Linked DNA regions of Homo sapiens: region 2 is linked to region 1. The links are contacts of gene promoters, found by promoter capture Hi-C in human tissues and cell types (Jung and others, 2019). All regions are on one chromosome and are shown on one strand. The core of a region is centred on a gene start or on the middle of the fragment in contact, and the rest is flanking DNA. Distances in the headings are between cores, read along the strand shown. Region 1 holds the start of KRT74 (keratin 74). Region 2 has its middle 15 kb from the start of KRT5.

The links. The method cuts DNA at HindIII sites, captures the fragments that hold promoters and counts their contacts. A contact is called where the count stands out against the background at its distance.
Region 2: a fragment that was not itself captured here is called in contact with the fragment with the promoter of KRT74 in region 1 in 2 of the 25 tissues and cell types used here (adrenal gland and bladder).

Annotation. Positions count from the first base shown.
Region 1 is chr12:52,570,368-52,576,818 of GRCh38, forward strand. It overlaps KRT74 (keratin 74), which reads right to left and starts at 3,476. Exons shown (of 9, transcript NM_175053.4): 1 at 2,940-3,476; 2 at 2,086-2,300; 3 at 1,577-1,637; 4 at 992-1,087; 5 at 302-466. The coding sequence starts at 3,410. RefSeq lists an enhancer at 1,901-2,070. The HindIII fragment of the contact is 9,071 bases long and covers 1-6,451 here.
Region 2 is chr12:52,532,599-52,539,049 of GRCh38, forward strand. No RefSeq gene overlaps it. Among named protein-coding and RNA genes, the nearest start is that of KRT5, 15 kb to the left of the region's middle. The HindIII fragment of the contact is 6,747 bases long and covers 775-6,451 here.

The sequences.
Region 1 (6,451 bases), core at 2,226-4,725:
CCTATAAGTGTGTTTGTTTTACCACCTCACTTCTTTCACCTGCAACAGAGAGGAACAGGCAGTTCGTGGATGGAGGAAAGAAGTGAGGGATCCTCTCTGTTGCATATATTCAATCCATACCAGTTTCATGATTTATCTTTGATAACAAGCTCTGCTAAGAATTCCTTTTTTCCTTGAAGCCTTGGTTGGAACCTTTCTTTCATTCAGCATGCCCACAAAAGTATTCCTCACATTCACTGTGCAGGTGACCCCTCCCAGGAAGCGAAGGGCTGCTGTGGGAGGAGACCCATTCGGTGACCACCTTGGTCTGGTACAGGGCCTCGGCCTCGGCCTTGCTCTTCAGGGCGATCTCCTCATAATGCATGCGGACCTCAGCGATGATGCTGTCAAGGTCCAGGTCCCGGTTGTTGTCCATGGACAGGATGACAGAGGTCTCACTGGCGTGAGTCTGGATCTGAGCGATCTCCTGCATTGAGAGAGGAAGACAGATTCAGCAACCCCCTGGCTTCCCTCTTCTGCCCCATCAGTCTTCTGGGCCCATGGTCCCTGGCCCAATAGGCTGCTAGGATCCACGGGGACAAAGTAGGGGGAAGAAGTGCCCTCTGGGATGTGTCTGCAGAGCTGAGGGAGAGCAGCTAACAGCAGCAGGAACCCCTGCATATGGCAGATGCCCGCTGGCACATGCAGACGGGTGAATAATGCATTTTCCACAATTTCACAGAATCCAAGGCTCTGTGCTTTGTAAGACCTCACTGGGTTATCTTTTCCTGCCCGTGGGCAAGTCCACTATTGTATCAAGATCAATTTCCTCCTGTATGTATGGCCTCCAAGGACCAGCATCCTGCACTTCCATGGTCTCCTGGTGCAGGGTTTTGTACCTTTCTACCAAAACATCTTTCATTTTGTTGATCCTAAATCTCTCCTTTTGGTATCTCCCTGGAAGAGTCGGGAAGGAGGCAGGGTGAGGGTGGGGGGACAGGAGTGTCCTTACTGCATCATACAGACACTTGAGGAACTTGATTTCTTTGTCCAGTGAGTCCACTTTGGCCTGAAGCTCCACCTTGACTGCGTAGGCTGCATCTGCATCCTGCCAAGAGGCCCCAGAGTCATTGGGGGATGCAACCCTCATCCCACAGCTGCCCTGCCCAACTCCTGCCTCAAAGCCACCTGATTTTCTATTTTCTACCCACAAAGGAAAGCTCACTCAATATCAATTTCTTCTCAGGCTGCCTGAAGCTTTGGGAATAGGGAAAGGAGGATGGGGCAGCTCTGTTATGCCTGGAGAAAACAAAGCCCAGAGAGGTAGTAGGTTTCCTCAGGTCACACAGCAAGGTTGAGCTGGACCCGAGTTTCACAGTTCCCAGACCAGAATTCTGTCTGTCTCTGTCCATTTCCTGAGTGTGTGTCTTTCCTCTCCAACTCACTGGAGGCCAGGACTATGACTCCACCCTCACCAGGCACCAGCCCCCTCACCAGGCACCAGCCCCCTCCCCAGCCTCCTGGGCTGAAGTCCTGAGCAGAGTTGTTAAGATGGGGGTGCGAGAGACCCTAATAAGGAGGCTCCTCCCTCTCTTACCTTCTTAAGCACCACAAACTCATTCTCTGCTGTCGTGCGCCGGTTAATCTCCACTTCATATCTGCCAGCAGGGAGAGTAGATGGCCTTAGCCCCCTTAGCCAAGGAACTTTCTCTTCCTGCTGGCCAGGCAAATGTTTGGGATACAGGGTCCCTGCAGGGTCTCTGGGGTGAGCAGTAAGAGGCTAGTGACAGGAGTAAGATATCCCTGAGTTGCTTCACTTGTCTCCTAGTTTTTGCATGTTAGGAAAACACCCAGGTGCCTATTGGGCTCCCGACACCAGCAACTGAACATTTCAGTGGGTCAAGGAGCACAGGAACCGCTTCCTATCAACTAGGCAGGAAGTTATCATCAAAGAGGATAGGCCCTTCCCCCTAGCCAGAGAAAGGGATGTGAGCTCCTGACCCTGGTGCATACTCCCCCATCTCCTAAAAAATAATGGCACAGAGATCAGGTGAGCCCAGAGGCACGGGAAACATGGTCTGTGACCCTCGGGTGGAGCCTGCTCACCTCTTCTTATAGTCCTCCACCAGATCCCTCATGCTTCTCAGCTCCGAGTCCAGCCTCACCCTGTCCCCAGACAGTGTCTCCAGCTGCTTCCGCAGGTTGCTGATGTAGCCCTCAAGGATGGGCTCCAGGTTCTTCTTGCAGTTGTTCAGGTCCAGCTGCTGCAGCAGCTCCCACTTGGTTTCTAGAACCTGGTTCTGCTGCTCTAGGAAGCGTACCTGGAACCCAAATCAACAGACACCTGGAACCACAATGGGTGCAGTCATGCCCCCTGGACACACACCATTGACTCCCCAGGTTTGCCATAGATTGTTGTAGTCATTTTTGCTCATGTCTTGACTCTCCACCCTTGCCATTCCACACAAACTAGATCCTTTACAAGTGCTCATTTCCTAGCCTTCTGGACAAGGCATCACTGAGAACTCACTCAAGGAGTTTCCACAGCTTTCTTCTATTGCTCGGCCCTGGTCCCAGGAGATGTCCTTCCTTATGTCTCAACTAAGTGTCTCTTCCTGTACCATGAGCCCTTCCCTCTGAACACTGCTGGATTCTATTAGCCTTTCATGTTCTTGGAAGATCCAGCTGTCCTCAAGAAACTCATCACTTTTTTGTCAAGGAAGGGCTGCTCTTTACCCAGCTTCCCATCCTTCCCTGCAAAATCGCCAAAGAAGCCGATATATTCATGTATTCCTTTGTCCTCCGTGGCTCACAGACCTACTCTCCTTCCCTAATGGTGAGGAAGCCCTTCCTGAGGCCCAGCTGCACCTTTCCAGCCACAGTGTGCAGTCCATTCCCAGGCAGCAGGAAAACTGCTCAGGCCTCAGGGTGCGGCCTCATCCTCCTCCTATGAGACCCACCTTGTCAATGAAGGAGGCGAACTTGTCGTTCAGCACCTTGATCTGTTCCCGCTCCTGGGCGCGCACCTTCTGGATCTCAGGGTCCAGCTCCACGTTGAGGGGGGCCAAGAGGCTCTTGTTGACAGTGACCTGGTGGATGCCCCCAGGTGGGCACACAGACAAACATGCAGGCCCCAGGGCCACACTGCCAAACATACTGCCAGCAAAGCCACTGGCCCGGCCCCCTCCATACCCAGAGCCAGGCCTGAAGCCGTAACCTCCAGCCCGAACGCCGCCACCAGCCACATTGAAAGAAATACGCCGATTCCCTCCAAGGCTATAGAGGCTCCGACTGCCAAAGCCAGCGCCAGCCCCTCTGCCAGCTGCACAGTAAGAAGCCAGGCTACCCACAGCCTTCCTTGGCACCACTGCCGAATGCACACTGAAGTTGCCCTTGTCACCACTGGACTTGATGTTCAGTTGCCGACTCATGGTGGGAAAGGTTGAGTTGACAGAGCTGGAGAAAAGCAGTCTCCAAGGGGTAGAGAACACACTGATGGGGCACCCAGAGTGCTGCCTCCTTTTATCCCTGTTGAGCCCAGGACACCGGAAAAGGGCGTCTCTCCACTATCTCCTTTCCCCTGCTGATGGGCCAGGGGCCATGGGCAATTTGTAGAACAGAGATCTCCAAGCCCTTTGCAGCAACAAAGCTCTTCTGATAGCAAGTGGAATATGCTGCCCTTGCAGAGTGGAGTGGTCTAATTTGGAGTTTATCTGTGCTCCCTAATTAAGGACCTGAAGAGTTATCCCCTGAAGAGATCTCCTAGCTTTATTTTTCCAGTGCTACCTCCTTCTTGCTTAACCATCAGCAAGGAGCAGGGGAAATGCCTGGCTTTCCCCAGAGTAGACTCACCTGAAAAACCCCAGGTTTCTTCCCAAAAGAAACCATCTCTCTATTATAGGGTCTTGTGTGGAAGCTGGAATTTTTACCTCAGGGAAAAGAAGACATGGAAAGATGATTCTTCTTGGAAAGATGTCCTCAAAGATCTGGATCTGGGTAAGAAGCTCCAGGGTCCGTCCTTGGGCCATGCTAAGGACCACAGCTGTCTAGCAGTGAAGTGGACCCCAGGAAGGAAGAGGAATGACTCTGCAGCATCTGCATGCCCCCCTAGCAGGGATATTGTCTAGGGCCTTCTGTGTTGGGCAGGGCCTGGGTGGTGGTGACCTTGACATTGCCTTACAACCATGAGAACCTTTCCAGTCAGCTGCATTTCCTCCAGTTGGATTTTCTCTCCTGGATAAGATTATTTGTCCTACTCTAGGAAGTCAGGCAGGAGCTGGGATATTAGCCCCTGCACTCCCTGGGGAAACACCCTATGGCTGAAGTCACCAAGGAACAGGACCCCCTGAGTTTCACTCCCAGGTTCAGGGTGGGCTGTTCTGCCAGTTTCCTGGCAACTTCAGGGAGCACTCAATTTTCAAACAGGAAGTATCACTGCTTTATAGCTCAGGTAGTGTGGGTACAGTGCAATGTTAAAAAATTATTTCAGGGCTGGGCATGGTGGCTCACACCTGTAATCCCAGCACTTTGGGAGGCCAAGGAGGGCAGATTGCCTGAGGTCAGGAGTTTGAGTCCAGCCTGGCTAACATGGTGAAACCCCGCCTCTACTAAAAATACAAAAATCAGCCGAGCGCAGTGGTGCATGCCTGTAGTCGCAGCTACTCAAAAGACTGAAGTAGAAGAATCACTTGAACCTGGGAGGCAGAGGTTGCAGTGAGCCTAGATTGTGCCACTGCACTCCAGCCTGGGCAACAGAGCAAGACTCTGTCTCCAAAAAACAAAAAAAATTATTTCAAAGCTAGGTATCTGGCAGCTGCCCTCATGCAAGACTCTGACCACTTCCTATAACTAAACTGAGAACACTTGGCTTGTTTGGATCCAGCCGAGGGCAGAAGACAACTGCTCCCACTGCTGGGGAGGGAAAAGGAGAAGCTGACCTGGGCAGGGAGCGTGGAGCTTAGGCCTGGAAGCTGCCCCGGAAGAATTTCCCCTTCACAGGGTGTTTTCCTCTCAGCCCCTGAGGTAACGGTGGAAGGTCCTTCCCCAGGGACCCTGTCTCGGGGGGCTTTCCCGGCAGGGCCTAGCCCTACAGCACAGGAGCATGTAATCGAAGGGGTTGCTTGTGGTTTTCTAAGTCAGGTTGCAAGGGCAGCAGCAGGGGTGCCGCCAGATGCTGGGTTTGCCGCCCTCCTGTGCTGGAGTGTGCAAGACAAAAAATGGCGTGAGTTCCTTAACCTGGGGGTGACTGTCCTAGGGCCCCAGCCACCAAGAAGCCTGCAGACCAATGAGAGGAATCTACACAAAGAACTTAAAGTAGAGCCAAAGCTCTGGAATGACAGAAAAGCATTATGAACCACGAATCAGAGGTGCACTGAGGAATGGCTCATCTTGATTAGGGTTTTTGGGGATCTCCAGAAGCCAGGCTTATATTCCCAACAACGCCCACTACAGGTGCTGGCTCAGAGTAGTGGCTCAGAGGTAGTGGGGCTGGAAGTATTCCTTATGGCAGTAGTAGCAATAGTGGTAGTAACATCATTGTATAATAGTGATGGTAGTAACAGAAAGTGTTAACACTTATTCTTCACTTCACATGTGCCAGGCATGGGATGTCTACATGGGATGTCTCACTTAACCCTCTTTAACTAACTTCATTTACAGTTGAAGAAACAGAGGAACTTACCCATCTCACTCAACTAGTAAGTCAGAGCTGGGCCGGAATTCAAGTGCGTCTGGTTTCAAAGTGCATGTTCCTGACCATCGTGTTATGTGATAGAGATGGAAGTTAGTGGCAAAGATGCAAAGACATTGTGGTACATGTGGCAGGCATGGCAGCTGTGGGCTGGGGACCTTGTGCTTGTGTTTCTGTTGTTTTTGATTCAAGTGTGACATGAGGAGAAGGGGAGGTTGTTGCTGAACTAGGGGCTTGCAAAGGGTAGCTGCTCAAGATAAGACATCACTCTAGGTTCAGAGAGAAAATCAGCCACAGCAAGGATGGGCAGGGGGAAGGAAGAGACTTGCTTTCATGAGCGGCTGTTTTATTCTAGAATCACCAGCAGCTGGCCCTTCATTGCCCGGCTCCGAGGGGAAATAATCATAGTTCTGGCTAGCTGAGTCTTTGCGCCACCACTGCCTGGCTGACTATGAGCCCCAATCTGATAGGAACTTCAACGAAAAGGCATTTACAAAGCAGAAAAGGCATGAGGCTAGATCTTTGAGGCTGGAGAAGACTTAGGGTAAACAAAAGGCAGATATCCAGGTGCCCAGGGAAATGCAGCAGAATGAATGGGGTCCATCCACACTCAGAAGTGATGGGCTGGGGAGGGCCAGGACTAAGGCTAGGGGTCCTGGCACCCTTTGTATTCATTACAAAGGGTGCCCCTGTGGGCTGGGCCCTGTGCTGGAGGCTGGCCAGTAAGGGTTGCTGACAGCGGTGGTAATGATGGTGGCAGAGTGGCTGTGACGGAGAAGGAAA
Region 2 (6,451 bases), core at 2,898-5,397, 37 kb before region 1:
AAGCCTTTCCCTTGCTCTCTGATCTCAGGCCTCTTCTCCCACCACACAAGGAACCTCTCCTGCAACACTTAGGAGAGGGCTGGGTTGTGGGGCCAGGGTTCATGCCTGGGCCGCCTTAAACCTCTGAGTGTCCAGCTGTGTGCCTGGATGAACACACACCCCTGATGCAGAGTCAGGGTGGCGTGGGGGAATCTCTGTAATGACACCATCGAGGGGCTGGAAACCACAAATGAGCACTTGGAAAGTTGTACTGCAGTCCTTAGAGGGTGAGAGGGTGAGTGTGGCAAACTGCAGCTTCTGACCAGGCCGTCAAAACAACAGGGGCTGTGGGAGGTTCAGCCTGGGTGTGTTGGGGAAGGGGGAGAAGGCTGTGGTGCCCCACCCTACCCCACCCCACCTGTGATAGGTGCTGCCTACAGAGAGATGCTGGGAACCACTCCTGCCGCCCTCTGGCAAGACCTGGGACAAATACCTGAAAAGCTTCTCACCCTAACGCACTTGGCTTCTCCCTGGGTCACTGGGTCACTGGGCCCCTTGCTTGGTTTTGACCGTCTCTGCAGTTCCTGCCCAGTCCCAAAGGCTGACTCCAGCTTCATCCTTTTCCCTCCCAGACCCTTACTGTTGGCCCCACACAGAGTACCCCTCCTCTCTGGAAGCCCTAAGGACCCTTGCTACTCCAGGACTTGGACCTGTGTCTTCAGGTGCTGGATCTGGGACAAAAGAGGGAGACAGTAAAATTTCTCTCTCCCTAGGTAGGAGAGAATATGGCCGGCCACTTCACCCTGGTGGCCCTAAGCATGTTTCATAGTCCCTCTGGCCCTAAATTTCCTTATTAATATAAATTGGTTGGGGGGGGGTTGCTAATAGGATTGTTGAGGATTTAATAAGAAATATCCTTAAAGAACGTAGCTCATGGCCTGACACACAGGAAACCCTCAATTAACTATAGCGATGATCACTATTCCCACCTTCAAGGTTTATCTCTGTGTTTATTTCCCATTCCCATTTCCTTGACGGGCTCTGCACCTCTCCTTTCCTATCCCGTCCTCCTGTCTTTTGACACCGGAAGCTTGGCCTGGGTACCTGGTTCTCCCCCAGTTGGTGTCCCAAGTGTGGGTGCTGTCTCCAAAGTCCCCTTAGACTTGGTCAAGAGGGGCCCCTGCCTTGGGCCTTCTAGTTGCCCTTGTTCCACAGAGTGAGGAGTCTGCAGGGCCAAGGGCCATGCTCATGGGGTCCACACTCCCCTTCTAGACCCGCTCAGCTACCTAAAACCCCAGCATTCCCTCCCCAGTGACTCCCAGCCCACGCTCAGGCCTGTCCTCTGGAGAGCAGACTGCCGGGTGCTGGGCACACCTCTAGGCTGTCTGCAGATTGTGGTTGTGTAGGCAAGGGAGCAAAGCCAGGGGTAGGAAGAGAAAGGGGCAGGCTGCAGGCCAGGAGCTGGGAATTCTCTCCATGCTGCCACATTCCAGAGTTCTGGAACTCTGACGAGTCCAAAATTAAAATCTCCAACTGAGCCTGGCCTACTGGGTCCGTCTGTGGGAGACTCAAACCTCTTGGTCCACTGGCCTGGAGACATTTTAGAAGTGGAGGCTTTGTCTCGGAGCATGGAGGGGATAGGCCTGCCTGGGCTCCCGGCCTGCTGACTGTGTTCTGCTTGACACCAGGCCAGCTGGGCTAAGCGTTCAGATGTAAAGAGGAAGCTGCTGGGGCCTCCTGACAGCAGATGCAAAGCTGAGGTACCCAAACACCTCGACCTTTCTCAGGGGCTCATGTAAGCAAATTGCTTTATCAGCTTTATCAGTTTTTACATTTTCCTTACGCATTTTCATAGAATTTGCCCCATATTCCATGCCATTTTCTCAGGACATCCTTTTGAGCATCCTGGACCCAACCGTCTTCATATAAGAAGAAAAATTTTAGTTTTGGTTTCATCCATGATTATCCTAGACCCAAACATTTAGAAATAAGTTGTTATATGGAATAGCCACCCGAAGGTGTGAGTTTGGGCATAAAAAGCACACATTGCATATATCCTTATCTGTATAGAGTCACGTGGACCTGATTCTGCCACCTTCTGGCTGCGTCACCTGGGGCAAGTTATTTAACGCCTCTAAGCCTCAGGTTCCCCATCTGTAATCTGAAGCCCTGGCCTAGTAGATCTCTAGATAAACTCTAACATCACTCCTACCCCTAAAACTCTGGTACTTACCCCCTTTACTCTTCCTTCTTTATTTTGCATTCAGCCCAGGGATCTCATCTTCCCAAAGCTTCTTTCATGTTCCTGCCCCTTTTACCTTCACAGTTCCTGACATTGGAGAAGGCAGTGTTTTAAAGCCCAGCTCCAATGCCCTTTAATCCAGAAAGCCACACTCTTCAGTCGCTACATTGGAAGACCCACCTTGGAGGCTGGACGGAAACCTGGGGGTTCACCCAGCTCAACCCCCTCATTTAACAGGAAGGGAAACTGAGGGCAAAATGAGGCAGTGACTTAGAGACAGAGCCAGGTCTGGAACCCAAATGCCCTTTAACCTTGCCACCTCTGGGATCCACAACCCTCAGGGCCACCATTTTAACTTGCACATATTATTATTACTGTGATCATCTGTGCTTCCTTAGAACCTTAATACCTCTGAGGGCCAGAATCACATTGTGTTCATTCTGTAGCCACCCTGTCCTGCGCCAACCCTCCAGCATCATCCCTGTACCAGATGGTACCTCAATAAGTGTCTGTTAAGTTTCACTAAACATAAATCCCATTTTGATCGTTGCAAAAAAACCACGTCTCATTTGAAGACCTCCCTGTGTTCTTATATCTGACTACTGTTGTGGTAGAGCAAACTGAAAGGGTTTGCAAAAGCCGATTGTTAAATTTTGAAGAACGTTGTGAGCTGTTATTAAACATAGCCATAATTCAAATTAAATTATGTAAAATTATAGTTAAATACATTGCATTAAAAACAAAGGGAAGAAATGTTTAAAACTCATCATTTTCTAATTTTATTATACTTTACTTTGATATATTATCAAAGTTCTTGTGGTTGTTGACATTTATTGAATCTACATGCAGAAATCCCCTACCATGGTGTTCACATCTCTTTCCAGCCTGTAATCAGTGACATCATGTTGGTAGCTTGAAATCACCTTTGTGGGAGAATTTACCCCAAGCGAACTGGCAAGCACTACAAATCAGAGCTTGGTTTATTGTTTGGTTGATTGTCTGGAGCTGCACAGCCTCACACAGCTGCCACTAGTTCCATGTGGCTAACTGAGCACTTGAAATGTGGCTAGTCCAAGCTTAGATATGTCATATGTACTGGATATTGAAGATTCAGAATGGAAGAAAAGAATGTAAAATATATCATCAAAAATGTTTATATTGATTATCTATTGAAAGAATAGTGTTTTCTATATATTATGTCAAATATATTAGAATTAATTTAGTCTATTCCTTAAATGTGGCTACTAGCAGATTTTAAATAATATCTGTGGCTTTCATTGCATTTCTACTGGACAGCTCTGGTCTAAATTTAATAAAGTGATGGGGAAAATGTTTATAACGTAGATTAAAATTAAAAGTATGTTGTGCCCATTGATAATAACATTATGAATAGCCAAAAAATACAAAATAATATCCCGGTATTTAAAACCCATTATCTGATTCAGCCAAAAAGTCACTCACATCATTGAGGAGCAAGTAAGTTCCAACATTCATCTTCATCATTTCACGTTCATCTTAACTGTGAAGATGAACATGGGAGCTAACATTCATGTGGGGGCTATGCTGGTTTGTTGGTTGCAGCCACTGGCCAGCCATGGGCATAAGAGTTTGTCAAAAGCCAACTGAAAGCATTCCATGAGGGTCACTTGGCTGTATCAAGTTTATAATAAAGAGTATTGTAGGGCTGGGCACGGTGGCTCACGCCTGTAATCCCAGCACTTTGGGAGGCCGAGGTGGGTGGATCATGAGGTCAGGAGATCGAGACCATCCTGGCTAACATGGTGAAACCCCATCTCTAATAAAAATACAAAAAATTAGCCGGGCGTGGTGGCGGGCGCCTATAGTCCCAGCTACTTGGGAGGCTGAGGCAGGAGAATGGCTTGAACCTGGGAGGCGGAGCTTGCAGTGAGCCGAGATGGTGCCACTGCACTCCATCCTGGGCAACAGAGCGAGCCTCCGTCTCAAAAAAAAAAAAAAAAAAAGACTTGTAGATTTTATTATTATTTGTAAACTGTATGCTACATATCTAATATAGCAGTAAAACTTCTAGTAAACTTATAACATAAACATAAATACACATTTACATGTATATATATTTGTATATATACACATCTATGCATTTTTTCAGAGAGCTGGTTGTTAGGCTCAGCAGCACACTTTAGTTACCAGCACACCACTGTCTCCACCCCTCTCGCTACCCTGTGAGCCCATTGCCCAGGCCCTGTCCTTTGTGGCACTGACAGCCTGTCCCTTCCCTTCCTTCATTTTCCAAATCCGCAGAGTCTCAGAGGTGTGGACTAGAGGTCCCTGCGCCTCCTCTTCCCCTCCTCCCTTTTTTCCACTTTGGACATCTTTTTCAGTCTATTCTCCACTCCACTGTCCTGCCTCCCATCCCAGTTTGTAGACACGTGCCCTGGATAGTCAACCACAGTGCCACAGAGATGTCATTCCCCAGGTTGGCACTCAGCCCCAGCCCTGCCTGCCTGCTCTTGCCCTTCGGTACTGGCTGCTGACAGGCCTGGCACTCAGGATGTCAGGTGGTGACTAGGTCTCCCACCTGTCTGCTAGTCTTTTCTAACCCCATCAAAGATAGCTCTGAAGCAAGACCAAGGGGTGCCTACATCACAGAGAGGGGAGTCTGTGCCAGTGAATGGTGTCCAGAGCACTGGGGACACAGCTCTGCGGCTCTGCAGGTTTCTTGTAATCGCCATCATCGCAAACACCTTGTGCAGCCTGCAGCAATTCTGCCATGAACACCACACACAAAAAACACTACACCACCCAAGCTGTGCCCACCAGGAACCTCCAGGATGCAGGGGACACATTGATCAAGACTTCCAAAGGTCGAGGAGGGGGTACTTGGGGGTAGAAGTAGCAATCCTGTTTAAAGTAAATCATGAACTTTGGAGCAAGGCATGGCCTTAGAAGGAGACTCCAAGAGTTCGGTTCAGGGAGAAGTACAGGGGAAAGTTCCACTGCAGTGGGGTGAGATGGAGAAGGAAGTTAGAGACTGAAGCTCTGATTAGTCCCCTGGAGGAGGCAACATTTCAGAAACGTGGTCTAAAATACACTGGTCTAGGGCACAAGAAGAAGGAGGAGGAGACAAGTACTCCCGCTGCTGGGAAATCGATTTAGGACTAGAGTCCCCAGTGAACCCCTAAAAATTACCCACAGTTTCTAGGGTAGGTATTATTGTATCTAATAATAGTAATCATTTATTGCTATAGCTAACATTTATTGAGCTCTTACTATGGGCCTGGGATTTTATGTCTCAAACAAAAAGATGCAAAGAAGTAGTTATTATTATTATTATTACTGTTATTGTTATTATTATCCTCACTTCTACAGAAGCGAAAAGAGACTCAAGAAGATTAAAGAACTTGCTAAGTGTGGCAGCCCTGCTGGAGGCTGGGCCCAGAGCCAGGCCCCTCACCCCTGCAAGGCATCGCTCCTGCAGGATCGTCGTCACCCTCATCATCGCCATCCTTGTTCCTGACAGGCAGGAGATCCTGGTATTTTTCTGTGTGCTTCCCCTTCTCCATCCCTTTTGGTGATTTTCTGAACATTGTGCAGTTGACAGTGTGGTCATATTCCCATCGTGTAGATGAGGACCCTGAGGTACAAAGAGGTGACATGGGAAATGCTGAGACAGGGCGCAGGTTTGATGTGTTTCTCAGTAGTCTGAAGCAATTGAGAAAAGTAAGTGCAATGCAGTAAATCTTTCATGGGGCTAGCTTGACTTTATCTAAAGGGCTGAGCTTAGTCTGAGAGAATGTCCTTCCTACTGTTAAATTGTCCTTTTCTTTTATGAAATGATGACGGTAGTGGGTGGTGATTGTTGCACTCTTAATGTCCAATTTTGGCAAAATAAAAGGCTGGCTCTCTGGAGCTCCAAATCAGCCCCAGCAGCTGATGTGAAATGCTGTTTGATGATGGTTGACTCCTAACGTCTGACTGTAGTGGTCTGGAGGCTCTGGGCCTGGCTCAGGGCTCCCTCACTGCACATCTCTTCCAGCCAAAGCATTTACCCAGGGACACCTACGCTGCTCACAAACATGAAGGATGCTCAAAGGTGTGGCCCTGCCACCTCCATCTGAGTTGGGAAAATGCCTTCCATTACCCCTGACCATGGATTAAGGGGTCTCAGATCCAGAGAGCCCTGAGGCTGAGCTGGACTTGCCTGGGAGGATGTGCAGAGGGAATGCCCCAGCCTTTCTGGCTTCAGAGGGT